2 separate regions of the Homo sapiens genome follow, and region 2 is linked to region 1. Evidence: promoter capture Hi-C in human tissues and cell types (Jung and others, 2019). All regions are on one chromosome and are shown on one strand. The core of a region is centred on a gene start or on the middle of the fragment in contact, and the rest is flanking DNA. Distances in the headings are between cores, read along the strand shown. Region 1 holds the start of MEIS2 (Meis homeobox 2). Region 2 overlaps MEIS2 (Meis homeobox 2).

What was found. The method cuts DNA at HindIII sites, captures the fragments that hold promoters and counts their contacts. A contact is called where the count stands out against the background at its distance.
Region 2: a contact is called between a fragment that was not itself captured here and the fragment with the promoter of MEIS2 in region 1, in 1 of the 25 tissues and cell types used here (H1 embryonic stem cells).

The regions. Positions count from the first base shown.
Region 1 is chr15:37,097,344-37,101,984 of GRCh38, reverse strand. MEIS2 (Meis homeobox 2) reads left to right here and starts at 1,436. Exons shown (of 12, transcript NM_170675.5): 1 at 1,436-2,530; 2 at 3,786-4,018. The coding sequence starts at 2,519. LOC124903465 (a long non-coding RNA gene) reads right to left here and starts at 2,737. Exons shown (of 2, transcript XR_007064581.1): 1 at 2,556-2,737; 2 at 1-2,184. RefSeq lists silencers at 66-205, 2,655-2,714, 2,865-3,064 and enhancers at 906-1,185, 1,436-1,595. The HindIII fragment of the contact is 11,980 bases long and covers 1-4,641 here.
Region 2 is chr15:36,965,666-36,969,915 of GRCh38, reverse strand. All of the region lies in intron 8 of MEIS2 (Meis homeobox 2), which reads left to right. Among named protein-coding and RNA genes, the nearest start is that of MIR8063, 5.1 kb to the left of the region's middle. The HindIII fragment of the contact is 6,570 bases long and covers 1-4,250 here.

The DNA.
Region 1 (4,641 bases), core at 187-2,686:
CAAAGTTGGGGAGGGATGCGGCTGTTGGAGAACAACAGTCCGCTTTCCACTCTCTGGGCCAGGGACTGGGAGGGCGAGAGCGAGAAGTTGGGGAGAGGACGCGCTTCCAGCGCCTGTCCGCCCGGCCGCGCCACAAGGGGCCGAGGGGCATGGGGGCTGCTGGGCGGCAAGGCTTGCGCGGGGTGACCGTGGCTCCGCCCCCAACTCCGGGCTCGTAGTGATTGACGCGCGGCCGCCGGGAAACCAGCCGCGCAGAGGTGAAGCCTGGTGCAGCTCGGGCCAGGGAGGACAGGGCACCGGCCACAACTAGTTTCCACCCAAACGGTGTGGGGTAGTTCCCTTCGTTTCCTTTTCCTTTTTGGAAAAGTTCTTTCGGAGCTGGCCCCATCTCCCTGACCCCGCGAAATCGCCCCTGTGTAATTAACACAGCCATTAGCAGGCGTTACCGCGGCCCGCCGCTGCGCCTCGGGCGACCACAACAAAGCTGGGCTGTGAGCGCCGGCCACTCCTCCTCGCCCGGCAACTTCTTTCTCCCCCACTCTCTCCGTCTTTTCCTCCTGTGCTTCCCAGCTCTGAGTGAGATCCACTTTGGAGACGCACACTAGTCGCGCGCGCGCACGGGCGCGCGGGCGCGCGCGCGCACACACACACACACACACACACACACACACACACACACACGCCTTTGGCTACATCGGACCCAGATGACTGCCTCCTCACTTCCTCCCTCCCGATTCCGCCGCGGCCCCCAAAGACTCTCGGGGTGGCCCCTTGTCCGCACCGCTTGGAGGGAGTGTGCTCTGAGTTAAGCTGGTCTCTTCTGGTCCTGGAAAAAAATGAGTATTGACAAGGTTGCTGGATCTGCGCAGAAAAGAAAGTGCCACTTAATAAAAAATTTAGCCCGGCAGTGGTACCGTCTGCAGAGCTTGCTGCCCTTGGACGTTAGCAGGAAGCCTTCGGGGTGCTGTAATCGGCGGGCAGAGGAGAGGGAGGCCGCGGAATTAAAAGGAACAAAAGCTAGAGCGCCATGCCAAACGTCCCCGGCAAGACCCAGTTAGGCAGGAGCCGGGAGTGATGGGAAAATGAACTAGAAGTAAGTTTTTTTTTTTTTTTAAATGAAAAGATCTGAGGCGGTACCGTACTTTCCCTGTGGTTTTCTGCAGTTTTCCTCTCTGCGCTCTCCCTGTCCTCTTCTCTCTCCCCCTCTCCCTCTCTCCCTGTTCGCGCGCGCGCGCGCGCAACACACACGCGCGCACGCACACACATACACACACACTCACACACACAGACACACTCTCCTTTTCCTCCCCCCCGCCGTCCCCCATCCCCGTGGAGGAGCAGGCTTGCTGATTTGCTCGGGTCCGCCCGGCTCGAGCCTCCCCTCCCCCTCCCGCCCCCCCGCCTCCCCCACCCCCCCAGCCGGGGCTGTCCGATCGCACTCGTTGCATATCAGAGGCTCGGCGCGGCGCGCTCCTCCTCGCTCCCGCTCCCCACTCCCGGGATGTGTCTCCGCCGTACGACGGGCTATGGCCACCACGACTTCCGGGTTCCGTCATTTCGTTCTCCCGCCGCCGACCCGCGCCGCCAAACTGAGGCTCTTCAATAAGCCAGGCAGCAGCCAACCTGCCAACACCTACTGACACTCACTCATCTCCCAGAGAGAGAAAGAGAGCGAGAGAGAGCGAGCGCGAGAGAGCGAGCGCGAGTGAGAGCGAGCGAGCGAGCGAGAAAGAGAGAGAGGGAGAGACAAAATACCTACCAGGAAAGGGGGGGAGGAAGTCCAATTTTTGCAAACTATTCATTTTTTTTTCTTGATTTTTCTCACTGCTTTCTTTGAACAATACTTTAAAGAGAGAGGATCGTATTATAGATACCGCGGGGGCAAAGCTAAAAAAGGGGGGAGGGGGGAGGAAAAAATTCAAGAAGCAGAAACCCCTCGCGGAGTTTTACTGGAAGAAAAAAACGGGTCTGAAAGATTCCTCCTCTTCATCATCATCAACCATCATTCATTCACTACCTTGACATTCCGGGCTTTGATTGACAGCTGGAGTGGCAAAAAGCCATGAAACACGACAGTTCGGTTACATGTGGGCTGCTGACGGGCCGCTCGTAACCTTCAGTTCGGGGGCTTGACAATTTTTTTCTTCTTTTTCTTCTTTTTCTTTTCTTTCTTTTTTTTTCCAACTGAGGGGAAGAGAAGAGAAAGAGGGGGAAAGGAGGACCGAAGAGGAGGAGGAGGGGAGGGGGGAGGAGGAGGAGGTGGAGGAGGAGGAGGAAGATCAGGAGGAGGAGGAAGAAGAGGAAAAAAGAGAAAAAGAAGAAATATCACAGAAAAAAAAATTCTTCGTTGTCTAGACTGGGCTTTTTTTCCCCCCTAAAAAATAGCATATTGGAGAATTGGGAGAAGTCTCTTTGGTTTGGAAAAAAAAAAAAGGAATCTTCAGCCTAGATCACTTTCTTATCCGGACTGGGATATTAAATATACGACACATCCAGGAGTTTATTGGAGCGCAGACTGATGGCGCAAAGGGTAGGTTTAAATCTCCAACACTTACCTAGATATAAATCCTCTCCTAAGAGGGGCCTGTCCCGATGCCTCCTCTCCCTTCAACGCTTCTGCTGCTGCTCGCTGCTTGATGATGGCGGCCAGTATTTTAAAAAATAGCAAAATTATTCATCGGCTTCTTTCCCTCCCGTGCCTCTGCGTGTGTGCGAGTGTGTGTGCGTGCGTGTGTGCGTGTCTGGGCGCGCGTGTTCCAGCGCTGTGCGAGCGGGCGGGCGGCGAGTGCGTGTGAGTGGTGTGTGTGTGTGCGTGTGCAATCGTTACACGCTTTCGCCTCGCTCCAGCTTTTACCCCAGCAGCGCGATTCCCCCGGTTCTCCTGCTGCCGCTGCTGCGCCGCTGCCGCCGTGGCTCGCGCGGCTCGGGGCGGGCACGGGCTGCGTAGGAGCCGCCGCCGGGGCCGCCGCTGGGGCCGCGCTGCCGCAGCCGCTGCGCCGCCGCCTAGACTACTAGCCTGGGCTGCTTGTTTTGTCTCTGAAATTGACAAGGACGCAGGGAATCCGCTGCTAAATAATGTTTCTGGTAACTTTCACGTTATTCGCCCCCCCACCCTCCGCTCCCTGCCCCCGGGGAGGCACTGGCCCTAGTCTTTCCTAGTCCTCGGCGTTCTCGTGCTGATTATTAGCGTTTTTCTTCTCTTTATTTTGTTTCATTTCGCCTTTTGATTTATTGGATCCTCAGAGGAGGCGAAGGGGGGTTAGGGGTGGGATCCGGGGCTTCCTCCTCACACTAACTCCACTTCTCCCTCCGTTGGCTCGCTACGGTTCTGTTGCCTCCGGCGGGAGCGGGGCCTCCCGGCGCCCCCTCAAATCCCCGGCCTCGCCGCCTCCTCTTCCTTCTCTAAACGTTGCTCTTGGTTCATGCTTTTTCATTTTTAAATTTAATAACATTTTTTCCTCACAACTTTTAACTCCGTTGTTTTGGCTGGTTTGGTTTCTGTGTGCTCAACTTGTGCTCGGTACTTTTCTCCTTTCTGACTTTGTTTTTATTTTTATTTTCTCTCTCTCTCTCTCTCTCTCTCTCTCTCTCTCTCTCTCTCTCTCCCCCTCTCCTCCTTTTCCTCCTCCTCCTCTCTTCTCTCTTACCTCCCTCCCTCTCTCTCATCTTTATCCCTTCCTCTCTTTTCTGTTCGCCCTCTTCTCCCTGCTCTTTTTCCCTTTCCACCCCCCTCCTCTGTTCTCCCTCACCTCCTGCGCCCCCTCCCCCTTCCCGGGTTCTGACAGTACGATGAGCTGCCCCATTACGGCGGGATGGACGGAGTAGGGGTTCCCGCTTCCATGTACGGAGACCCTCACGCGCCGCGGCCGATCCCCCCGGTTCACCACCTGAACCACGGGCCGCCGCTCCACGCCACACAGCACTACGGCGCGCACGCCCCGCACCCCAATGTCATGCCGGCCAGTATGGGATCCGCTGTCAACGACGCCTTGAAGCGGGACAAGGACGCGATCTATGGGTAAACTGACCCCCCGGACCCAGCTTACTGTGTGTGAGTGTGAGAGTGTGTGTTTGTCTCTGTGGGGGTGGGAAGGTGGACGACTAAGTGGGGAGTTACTTCTGTATGGTGGGGGGCGGGCGCCGCTTGCCTTAGGAAGGGACCGTGGAGGGGGCCTGCTCTTCTGCCCCTGGAGTCAAAGCCCCGAAGAACTAGCCTCTTTCGCTCTCACAGCCCGACCACTCCAGACCCCACAGCCTGGAGTGACTGAGTCCCCAGAATCTTGCCGGGGCCTTCTCCCCGAGGACAGGATTCCTGGCCAAAGGACGCAGGACTGCTCGTTTCAGGCTCCCTAACAGAGGCCTTGACGAAGGAGAAAGTTTCCTGCCGATGAGAAGCAACTTTGGGTTTTTTTATTTTTTACTTTTTTTTCTTCTGTTTCCTACTGAGGGTCTGGGAGTCACTAACAGCAGCTTGAGCTGGGATCAGGGCTGCTTCTGTCGGCCAGGAAGTCCTAATCACCCACTTCTTAATTCTCTGTAAATAAAGGGGGCAGACCTCGAAGTGCAGCGAGGTGGAAGGGACTCTTGCTTGCTTGGAGCCGCTCTTAGGGGGAGTAAGGAAGATGGCTGGAAATTATTTTA
Region 2 (4,250 bases), core at 7-2,506, 130 kb after region 1:
TTGCGAAAAGAAAAAAAAAGCCAAAAAGACATTGTTCTCAAGTCTTAAGTTACGAGGAGCTGCAATTTACATTGTTTTTCATTATGGGAAGATCTTCAAAGATTGTAATTGTGAGTTTAATTTACTAACAAGGAGCAGACATGAGTCTTCTTGACTGAGAATGCAAACATACTAATTTAAAAGTAGATTTATATGTATTGTATTAGTGCTTCCTCCTGTGTACATATACTGGTTTGATCTTTGCCCTTTTACTTTTCATTAGTATTTGAAATTAGAAGTCAGAAAAGTTGATTCTTAATTTTCATATACACTACAGAGGATTTATCTGTAAATATTATTTATTTCAAATTTTCCTATGTATGTATAAGTTTGTTCTCATATAAACAATACCTTTAAATAACTAAAGAATTAAGATAGAATGTAAGAGCTCAGAAACATAGGAAGAGTGAGCCAAATAAGGAAAAAACACTTTCGTGTTTGAAGAAAAGGATGGACGAATAGGGAGGTGGAGAGAAGGAAGGAAGGAAGGTGTTCCAGATGGTTTTGAAATTTGTGCAGTAGAGGAGAAGATTCTCAAATGTCATGTGGTTTTCTGAAGAGACAAAAACAGGACTTTAATGTTGATGACAGAGTAGATAAACTGGAAGTGAGATAGTGAAATTCATTTTTATCTACATTTCCTCTCAATTCTCACCCTTTATGGGAGCTCTTTTTCTTCATCCTGAGAAAATTCAGATAATTAAATGCAGTTAAGAGTGCAAACTAAGAGAAGAAATACAACAATGTCCCATTAGGAAGGTTGTGGCTGATGAAGGCTTAAAATACTTGCTACCACTTAACAAGTAAAAATGACTGCAATGTCATAGAATATTCTTCAAATGTCTTTAACAAAAAATCCAAATAAACTAGAACTAAATGATGGCCGGTTTACGTTTCAAGATGAGAAAGCGAAGTGAGGAGGACTGGTTTTGATCTGCAGCAATCATCTCTTCAATAGATACTTTTTTACTGAGATCCTCAACTATACAGTTCTGAGCTAGGCACATGCAAATTAAAGAGTTGCGTGAAATATGGTTCATTTTATTGAGAACCTTACTCTTTACCCCCCAGTTTCTATAATGCAAGTACTATAATGTATATCTCTCCTAAATGAATAATATAAATGAAGTGTGACCCAGATATCAGCTGATTCCTTTGACTGCACAAGTGAATTGCTTTTAAACCAACATAGCCTTGATGCAAAATTCAGCCACTTCATCAGCTTCCTTAAGAAATCCAGTCATATCAAGGATTTTGTGAATTCTCTAGTTTTGCTGAAGACTTTTAGTGTCAAGGGGAAGTGTCACATCACATAGCACACGTATCACTTGAAAAACTCCCTTTATGCAATCTCTTCCCAGGCCTCGCCTCTTAACTTTAATCGCCTCTCCACCTCTTCTCCTAGGCAGCTCTCAACACAGCTTCTCAGCAATTCAGGCTGAGTAGCTTCCTGCTTTGACAAGAAACTTGCCTGCCATTAGAAACACAGGCCTGGGGGATTTATTTCAACCCCTATTTTTCAACCCACAGGCTTATCAAAGATCCTTTTCAATAGAGCTGATTCTTCCTACAAAGAAATTTCTAACCAGCATCTAAAGAAAATTTTCTCCGTATGATTTTTTTAGAAGCACAGAGAAAGAAAAAATCACTTCAAAGTAGTGATCAAGAAGCTGGATCTTGAAGAAATGTATATCAATCAGAATAGGATTTGTTACGCTGCTTCGACAAATAGCACCAAAAACCTCAGTGGCTTAACACAAAAGAGTTGTTTCTTGGGCACACAAAATCAGTGGTGAGTTCAGGCTATTCTCTGAGGCTGGCTGTCCTCCTTATACAAGCTCAGCATGTAAAGTTTCTTCCACTTTGTGACACCACACTCTTAACAAGTACCTCCATGATTGCAGCGGCAATAGAGAGGGCTAGGGGAGTTCATAGCAGCAAGTGAATTCTTCAGCCCCCAAAATAGCACACATACCCTTAATCACAGTCCTTTGTCTAGTGATCAGTTGCATGGTCATGCCCAATTCATGGGGAGGAGAGGTATAGAGGGACTGGGAAACACAGTGTATAGAAAAAGGGGAGGAGAGAAAGAATGGTGAGATTTTGAATATCTGCAAGATGGAAGGGGTTTTGGTGGCAATAATAGAGGAATAAAATAGAGAAGACAATGTGGTTTGGTTAGGATTTTATATTTGTGTTGCAGAGTAGTGGGATATAAATTTGGAAAGATAGTTTGGGATATTGTGAAAGGCCTTAGAGTGCAGGCCAAGAATCTGTTTTATTGGTGACATGGAGCTATACCGGTTTTGGGAAGTGTATGAATGATCCATTTGATGTCTTGTGTACTTGCTAGGTGGTGACTGCTGGGGCCAATTTGTAGTCAATTTAGAGACATGAAGATCAGTTAAAGACTTTCTTCCAAATCAGCTTAGTATAAGGAAAATACCTGCATTCTGGTGTTCTTGGGGAAAATGCAAAGGACACTGTCCTAATCCATCTTCCCTCTATGTGTGTCCCAGCTGAAGATTCTTTTTTGCATCCTATCTCACCTCATTCAATTAACATACCCTTTTAAAAAATCACTTTTAAGACCCACCAACAGGAAAATAAGATGCTGAATAACCACACATCACAAAATATTTATATTTACAAATACTAGTGATATCATGAGCGTTTAAAATGTGTTAGGATATCGCTATGTGAGGATGACAGGATTGATGTAGAAAACTCCCATTACATGACAGAGCAATGGAAACAAGGAATGATTCTGATTTATGACTGTATTTACCCAGTATGAATAAATAAATAGCTACTATTTATTATGTGCTTAATTACTATGTGCCAGACACCATGTTAGTACTTACATCCTTTAACATGACCCACAGGCCCAGGATGGTCTGGCACCAGCTACTTCTCCAGCCCCCATCCTTCCACTGAGCCCCTCTCACTCTGCAGTAGGGCTCTGGGCTCCTTGCCATCCTGCCTTCCTAGCTGGCTCTGACTACACTTGTCTATGATCAAATGTCACCTTCTCAAAATGCTCTCCCTGGCTACCCTACATAAAAGAGCAGCATCCCCAGTTATTTTCTATCTCTGTATAGTGCCTTGTTTGTCTTCATGAAGTTTGTTACCCCCAGAGAGATTCTGTATTTTTCATTTAGTACCTTCACTCCTTGCCAGAATATAAATTCCATGAGGTCAGAGATTTTTCTCTCCTGTAACAGTGCCTGGCACTCAATATCCATTTGGTCAATTAATACATGACTTATTTAAACCTCATAAGAACTCTATGAGGTAGGTACCATTAATTTTCCTATTTTATAAACGAAGAACTCAAGTCCTGGGGTGATTCAGTATCTCCTTCAAGGTTTTACAGTAAGTAATCTGCCAAGCCAAGATTAAAAGCCAGGACCGTCTGATTCCAAAGCCCCTACTTTTAGCCATAATACTCGTCTGGTGATGCGATACTAAGATCATGGTAATTAAAAGTTACTGTAAAATTATTCCTTGAGAATGTGTATGCTTGAGCCATTTCTCTGACATTAATATATATTTATTGAAAACATGATAAATATTTCTATATGTATGAGAAAGTGAACTTACTTCCCCCTTCTCCCCCTAAAAATGGTGTCTTGTGGAGCTAATAGATGGTGATCTCAAAGAGCGAATTTGCTCATATGGGCCAAATGTTTCCTCCTGCAGAGTGGGCTGCTTCCCAAAGAATTAGCCCTCCTCAAAATGAATTATTAACCCCAGCGTCCTGGCCAAATTCCCACTTGGATAGCCTAGGAACTGTTCAAAACTTGGAATCTATTGAAATTAGCCTGGCTTGATTGCAGTTTCTGCATTAATTGTGATATAATAGAGTTTCTCCAGAGATTTGAGCATATATTATTCTAATGTGTATAAGCTCACTTTGTCTCTTAATCTTTTTTAGTTTCTTCTTCCCCTCGTGAGATATAGCCTGAATTTCTTTATAAGTTTTTGTTTTTGTTTTAATTTCCCAGAATGAATGACAGTGAGCTCTTTTTTTCTTGGACTTGTCAAAGCTTTTTCTCACTTGAATGACTAGTTAGTCTCCTGGTCATTATCGCAGTGTGTTGCAGACATTAGCCACAGAAGTTTCTAGATCCCCAACTCTCTTGTGCAACTATAGCCTGGGCTAGGGAAAAGTTTGCTCCATGAAATTTTCCTAATTGTTTCTTTCAAGT